Regions from separate parts of the Homo sapiens genome. Here region 1 is linked to region 2. The links are contacts of gene promoters, found by promoter capture Hi-C in human tissues and cell types (Jung and others, 2019). All regions are on one chromosome and are shown on one strand. The core of a region is centred on a gene start or on the middle of the fragment in contact, and the rest is flanking DNA. Distances in the headings are between cores, read along the strand shown. Region 1 has its middle 69 kb from the start of MIR4289. Region 2 holds the start of SPIN1 (spindlin 1).

What was found. Contacts are between HindIII fragments. The study calls those that stand out against the background at their distance.
Region 1: a contact is called between a fragment that was not itself captured here and the fragment with the promoter of SPIN1 in region 2, in 1 of the 25 tissues and cell types used here (dorsolateral prefrontal cortex).

The regions. Positions count from the first base shown.
Region 1 is chr9:88,813,371-88,816,947 of GRCh38, forward strand. No RefSeq gene overlaps it. Among named protein-coding and RNA genes, the nearest start is that of MIR4289, 69 kb to the left of the region's middle. The HindIII fragment of the contact is 5,052 bases long and covers 1-3,577 here.
Region 2 is chr9:88,386,988-88,390,954 of GRCh38, forward strand. SPIN1 (spindlin 1) reads left to right here and starts at 1,457. Exons shown (of 6, transcript NM_006717.3): 1 at 1,457-1,551. LOC124902204 (a long non-coding RNA gene) reads right to left here and starts at 2,212. Exons shown (of 2, transcript XR_007061652.1): 1 at 2,125-2,212; 2 at 1-1,130. RefSeq lists an enhancer at 273-1,132 and a silencer at 1,210-2,109. The HindIII fragment of the contact is 12,466 bases long and covers 1-3,967 here.

The sequences.
Region 1 (3,577 bases), core at 747-3,246, 430 kb after region 2:
GTCGGGTTCACTTCTGCGGGTCGCTTACTCAGGGAGCCAGAGGTGGAGGGAGCTGAGCTGGCCTTTGATGCTGCTACCTCCCACACCAGGCCCACATCCCATCAGGCCTCCTGCACCCTGAGCTGCAGCCGGCTCTGACAGGGCATCACTCCCAGCACAGTGGGTCTCCCATTCCCCATGATCTTAACAGCCACAGGAAGCAGTTCCTCACACGGAAGCGGGCAGGATGAGCTCTTGACTTGAGCTAAAAGGGAAAACACCTTCCACACCTACAGGGGGCTTCGATACACCCTCCAAATAATCCTTTTCACAGAGTCTCCCAGCCTCCCCCACATGAGGCCTAGATGCTCCAACAGGTCCTCAGAGAGCAAAACCAATTTTTAATGAATTCCGTTGTAAATGTTGCATAAGCTCCGGCACCTCGTTTGAAATGCAGCCAGTCCTGTGCCCTGTTTTCCAAGCAGCGCCTTCATGTTAACATCTTTTCATCTCTGGGAAGAAAATTGCTTTCCATCAAAAGATTTAGAAAGCATGGGATTTATAATTCTCTTTAATAAGCAAAACATGCGTGCAGAAACGCTAAGAAATGAGCGTGTGGGGTTTCCCCACTCAGACCCAGGTCAAGGTCAGAGCCTCCAGGGTCCCTATGTGCCTTAGTCATTTATGTAAACAGTCCTTTACTTTAGGGCACTTTCTGTTGATCTATTGGCCATATACTTTTTTTTTTTTTTTTTTTTGAGCTGGAGTTTCACTCTTGTTGCCCAGGATGGAGTGCAATGGCATGATCTTGGCTCAGTGCAACCTCCAACTCCTGGGTTCAAGCAATTCTCTTGCCTCAGCTTCCCGAGTAGCTGGGATTACAGGTGCCCGCCACAACACCTGGCTAATTTTTGTATTTTTAGTAGAGACAGGGTTTCACCACATTGGTCAGGCTGGTCTCCAATTCCTGACTTCAGGTGATCCACCCATCTTGGCCTTTCAAAGTGCTGGGATTACAGGCATGAGCCAGCGCGGCTGGCCATACACTTTTAAAGGAGGGGTCTGCTTTAAGATTTGGATGAAAAATAAATAAAATTAACTGCATGAAAAAGCAATTTGCAAATGGGTGGTCCAAGCCCCTCTTAAAGTTTGATACATCTTTCAAGCTGAGAGGAAGTCTACGTACCTCCACCATCTCCAGAGTTTGTTCCCTGCAAAAGTGATTTTAATCTAGAGCAATGAATTCTGCAAACTCACATCTCAGGCATGTTCCTAATAATAGACTGCCTCCCTGCCCCCACACTGGCAGCCGAATGTTGCCAGTCCCAAGGAATGCTCCATCATGATGCCATTTGCCTGTCAGGACTCTATCCCAGCAGCAGCTGCAGCTGATTATGGCTCGGCTGTGGGCTGTGTTTTTTTATGATCCACCTCCTCCCTTTCAAAATCAATCAGGGCACACTCATGGAAGTAAAATTAGAGGCCCTGGCCAGGGCTTCAGCTTGAGAAATGCACTTTCCCCTCCTTTTCAGGGCAGTGGTGTCCAAGGAGGCCAACAGAGGGGTGGACACCCCGCAAGAAGCCCTGTGACAGCCTCCACCCAGCGTGTCTCCATCTATAGGCAGTTGCTAAGAGACTTAAAATGCTTTTATTCCTGAAGTTTCTTCTTCTTTCCCCTCCTAACCACCCTGGTGTGGCCCTCAGCTCTCAGTAGATATTTCATGTTCTGCACTCCCCTTCCAACCATGTTTATTTCTGCTTTGGGATGCTTGTTGGAAATAGCATGCCATTCAAAGTCACAGACTGTCACCTTGTCCTTAGCTGCTGCCTTCATTTCAGTCCTTTTTTCTACCTATCGAGACTCATTGGCAACCACCATGTGGTCCCTCCCCAGTTATCCCACTGCTCTCTGGGGGCATCATCTGAGCTCGGTTGTCCCTCAGCAGCCTGGGCCAGAGCTGTCCTCTTTGGTTGATTCTTGAACAATCCATCACCTTCACATCCCAACGTGACATTTCCATAAGATCAAACTGCATTCTTTATCCATCCCTGAAGATACATATTCATTTTCAAAAGCTTTGGCTCTCAATTAAAACAGAGAGAGTCATTTGGTCGAGGGCTCTGTGGAAAAGACATTATTAGCTGGAGTATTCTTCTCTTCCCTGTGGTGAATGAGAGAGCATTTTCCAATTAAGGCACTCATTCACTTTCAAGAGGCATGTGCAGGGTGCTCAGATGCGGTATAAAGGAGAGCCAGGCAGATCAGTAGCAAACGAGAGGAAAAACTGGTGGAAAATTAAGAAGAAATGAGAGTATTCAGATGCCAGAAGAGAAAATGAAAGACTGATACAGTGACGTACTCCTGCCCCAGAAGCGGAGTGTCTGCTCAAAAGCGTGAATTTGTGCAAAAGGTTGTGCACCAAAGCAGAAGGGATTCTGTTTGCACAAATGCATGTTTCTATGGATGTGCACGAGATCTGTTGTTCTAACAAGAATTGCTGAGCATTTCCAGCAGGTCACTTAGGGGAGAAAGGACTCTGCAGCCTTCCTGGCCCATCTTCTTCCTAGGTATCCCGGGGGAAGGGCATTTCTGATCTGCCTGCTCCAAAGCTGGGACTAGTACTGGGCCATCTGCTATCGCCTCCCAGGTGATGTGCCATAAAGTCAGAACTCATGAAACATCTCCTGGGCAGCCTCCTTCACTTTCCACACCTGTAACGAGTGGAGAAATTTAGGCCTGGGTCTCTCTTTCTCTCACTCTCTCTGCCCCATCTTCGTCATACCAGATATTCCGAGCATGCTGGTCCCAAAATACAAGTAGTGTAGGGGAGGCCTGGAGAGAGTGAGGCAGGAGCTCAAGTTGTCCCAGAGCCTTGCGTGGGAGCTGGTTGTTGCTTTCCTGGCCACTGACAAAGCGCTTCACCGACCTCCAGTCTATTCTCATTTCCTGCCTTTGACTCCTCGGTAGAGCGCCGTGCATCATGACTGATGACTGACTCTCTTGCCGGCTCCCTGTGGTCAGTCCCTGGGTTGGGTTGAGGCAGACACTCCATCTTCATGGAGTGTGGTCTACTGTGGAATTTCCTGCTGTGTTGGTCTCTGCATCGGTCACTGTGATGGTCCCTGCTCTGGAACAGTGTAGACAACAACTGAGTCTGAAAGGAGAAGGATGGACAGGATCCAGATCCAGGGCTTTTCAAGTTGGGATTCCCCTGGGGCCAGGTAATCTATGTGCTCCAACAGCTCACTTTTTGAGTGGGCAATGTCACAGGCCAACTCCTTTGCTTCAGGTATATCAGGTGTACTAGGGTGTGCCAGAGTACCAGGTGTGCCGGAGGGATCAGACGTGCCAAGGGTGCCAGTTGTGCCAGGAGACCAGGTGTGCCAGGAACAAGGTGTGCCAGGGACCAGGTATGCCAGAGAACCAAGTGTGCCATGCGTACCAGGTGCATCCAGGGACCAGGTGTGCCACAGGACCAAGTGTGCTATGGGTACCAGGTGTGCCCAGGGACTATTCACATCAGGGGTACCAGATGTACAAGGCACCAGGTGTGCCAGGGGACCAGGTGTAGCAGGGATACCAGGTGTACCAGAAGTA
Region 2 (3,967 bases), core at 207-2,706:
CTTGAACCCAGGAAGCGGAGGTTGCAGTGGGCCGAGATCATGCCACTGCACTGCAGCCTGGGGAACAGAGTGAGACTCCGTCTAAAAAAACAAAAAAGACATTAAACACACAAATGAAAGTGAGTAATTTCTCAACACTTGGTAACTTGTAAGTACAGCGATACACTTTTATATCTCAGTTTTGAAATTAGCTCTCTAGTTGGCCTGTGAACGTCCCATGCCTGCCAAGTGTGTCATCTGAGACAAGCACTTCAATTTGTTTGAGCAGGCATCTATCAATCTTATTTGTTAGAAAAGGTGCCAGTGAAACCCCAAAGAGTATTGCTAACTAATAACTGTGCTGCAGTTTAGAGTGTTCAAGGTGCTTTCCAGTAACATGTTCTGGAATTTGATCTGACAACGCTTTGGGAGGCGGTTTATTACGATGAGGCTGCGCTGTCGCACTCGAGGAACCAGGTCAGTGACCTGCTCCAGGACACGGGACTGGCGGGGAGGGGAGAGCGCCTGGACTCAGCCTCCAAGTCTCGCACTCGACTCTGCAGGAGTAAAAACTATTCTTGATCCTACCTCTCTCCCTTCTGCAAACAAGCAACAAAATGCTGAAAAGGCATCTTAACTGAAACGGAAGTCAAATGAATTCGCGTGCGATCATGGGAATTTTTGGCTCCTAACCTTGCGAGTAGAGCTGGGTGAGTTCCATTTGTGGTGGGGGAGTGGAAACAGGTTTCTGGGCTTGCAGAAGCCACATCCCGTCCCCACACAACCTAGGACAGGCCAGGTACTTGTAGGTGAGGCTCCGGGGCTCCAGCTAACCTGAGCTACCTGGGCTGGGCTTTGTGCGGGGAGGCAGCAAGCGGGGTGAGCCGGCGACGACGCCGGCCTCTACGCAGTGCGGTGGTGAAGACGTCTCTTCCAGGGAGTCACAGGAAGCAAATCCATCCTTTTAAAGGGCTCGCGTCCCGCGGCCCTGAACCGGCGCGCTGGAGCAGTAATGCGACGTTCTCCGAGGTTCAAGGCTCACGGCCCAGCCCTGTGATCCAGTTTCCTCAGTCTTCGCGGTGTGCACCACTCAGGACGACTTGCGGCTTACGTCCAGGACAAAGGGGGCTTGTCCTTTCTTCAACGTCCTACTGCGCAAAAACGAAGCCCTTCTCAGGCTGCCTGCCTTCCAGGAAAAGCTGCGCCCCCTCAGGAACCTGTGCCCCGCGCGCCTGCCGCCGCCCATTCCCGGCGCGCACCTGGCAGTCCCGGGCTCGAGCCCCGCCCTGCCGCCAGCCAGGTGAGAGGGGCCAGGCCCCGCCCTCGCCGGCCCCGCCCCGCCCCACTGCGCCTGCGCAGTCGGCCGTCGGCGCCAGGCGCCGGGGCGGCGCGGCCGTCGCAGTTCGGCGGGCGCAGTGCGCGTGCGCCCTGACTGTTGGGGGGCGGGCGGCGTCCGCGGCGAGGGAGCGGGGGCGGGGAGGCGCCGTCTGGCTCAGGCTGGGGCCGGCGGGAGCGCGAACGAGCGACGGCGGAACCCGTGGGCCTGTGGACTGCAGCCTCGGCGGTCAGCAGGTGAGGCCCGCGCAGGGCGGGCGTGGGTCGTGAGGGAGTGCGGGCTGCGGGCGGGCCAGCGGTGCGGCGGTCTGCCCGGGGGCGCAGGTGAGCGCGGCCCGCGCGGGGCCCGGCGGAGCATTGTCCAGCGGGCGGCGCCCGCATAGCGCCCCCTGCCGGCTGGGCCGCGGCGGGGACCCGGGCTGGGCGGGCCTGGGCCTCGGGGCGGGCGCGCGCTCCTTTGTTCGCCGGCCCCTACTCCTCCGTGCCCCCATCCCCGCCGCCCCCCGCCAACATGGCCGCCACCCTCTCGTCCCCAGTTCCCCGGCCGCCGCCGGCCCCTTAGCGCGCGCTTTGTTTGGAGCCGGGCGGGGAGGCCGGCGGGCAGGGGGCGGCGGCGCTGCGCAGTCGGGCGCGGGGAGGGGGCGCTGCGCCAGAATGCAGGCGGGGAGGGGGAACGTTGCATAATCCCGGGCCGGCGACGGGGGCGGGGCGGGGGGAGGGGCGGGACCCCGGCGCGACGGGTCGGGTCACCCCGGGGACGCGGGCCTGCCCTGGGGCCACCCCTCCCAGGCCCGGGGGATGGCCGCGGACCTTGTAAGTTGCAGGCTCCGCGGTTCGCGGCGCCGGAACGCCCACCGGCCAGTCCTCGCGCCCGCGCAGCCCCTTTCCTGATGCGCCGTCTCTTCGCCGCCCTCCGTGGGGGCGCGGCGAACGGGTTGCGTGCTCTGGAGAGAGACAGGCACTTTTCCTCTCCATCGTGAGTGACCTTGGGTGTATTCGTCAAGGAATGTGTTGAAACGAATTGTGCGATGCGGGAACTGCGCAGCGCCTCGGGTTTGGCTTTCTCGAGCATTTTATTGCATTGATTGTGCGTTCTCGATTTTACAGAGGTTCGTTTTGAGTAATGGCTTCAGTAATGTCATCGTATACGCATTTCAAAGTTTGTTTATGGAATTGTTTTTACATTTATTCTCTTTTTACTTATAATTTTTGAATCAGATTTTGTGTTTTGGAGAGATTTTCCGTACGTGGTGGAAGTGTTTTCACTCATGGTAAATATGGATTGTTTGGCAATTTTATCACGTTAATCACAAAACAATACCAGGAACATTTAAATGTCTTAAAGGATTTCACTCTACATGACTTGTGCCAGAGACGACACACGTACCAAAACGCGATTACCTGTCTTAACTTTTTTTCTATTGGAATTTTCTGGAAGGAATTCCATGCAATCCGAAAGGATTAATGGAGGGTACAGTAATTGCTTTCTACATCGCTTTTGTTAAGCAGTGAAAATTAAACTTGGAGATTTATACCTGGATATACTGAGTTTTTTTTAACACTCTTTTGAAGTGAAATTTTGGAAAGGGCAGGTGAAATGAGGCTTCTTCCAACCTCCCCACTCTCCCCCCTCAGCTTTAGTTAAAAGGCAAACACCAAAATATTGTAGTACCTGGTAATTTACAGAACGTTCGTTATCAGATTTGATAATTATATATTAAGGTTGTAAAGAATGTGTATGCCAGAATTATAGGTAGTAGATCCTAGATTCTTAGGAAAAATAGTTTCTTTATAATCTTTTGAGTAGTGAAATGGTTACTTTTACAATGGTTATGAACTGGGTCAAGGCAAAAGGGCCACTATATGTCTTCAGTCATCTTTCTATGCCTGAAATCCAGGAAACAGTGAAAATGGATGTTCCCTGGAACAGCCATTGCGATGCCATATGTTGGTCATTGGTGTCCTTAAAGTGTATCTCAGATAATTGTGTGTCTCCCTTACTTGTGAACTGAGGGGTCACAATATTGATGTGCCTGATGTGTGCCCCTCTGCATTTCGTGGGTAGTGTCTCAAATTTGGCTATCATATTGATGAGAGTTACTAATTTGGTTTTAGCTGCCAGAGGTTTAGGTGGTTTTCACTTCCAGTGACTTACCTGATTGCACATAGTTACAACGTTACTGGTTGCACTCCTTCATTGCTAGCATCTTTTTTCTAGTATATTCGATATACATTCTTTTGGTTTATCCTTTAAAATATTTGCTGAGATAGCATTTAAATGTTAATGCTGTATTTATATTTGTTGGATGCTTAATTCAATGTGTCTTCTTTCCCTTTCCATGAATGAAAAGAAATTGGAAGAAGAGAATCAACTATTTCGTGCAAGTATTTTGTTCAGTTTAGAAGATGTTATGGTATTGTGAAAACAATATTCTGGAGTTAGACATGGAATCACAATGGCCTTCCAAGTCAGAACAGTCTGGGTTGAAATTGACTCCTTACTGGTCCAAAGCCACATAACTGATTCATCATGCAGCCTTTTTTTAAAAAAAGTTTTTTTTTAAAGCTACTCAAATATGTCAGTTTTATTTTCTCTGTACACACATTTGTTACTGAAAATTGCAAAAACAGCACATTGAAGGTCCTCTTATTG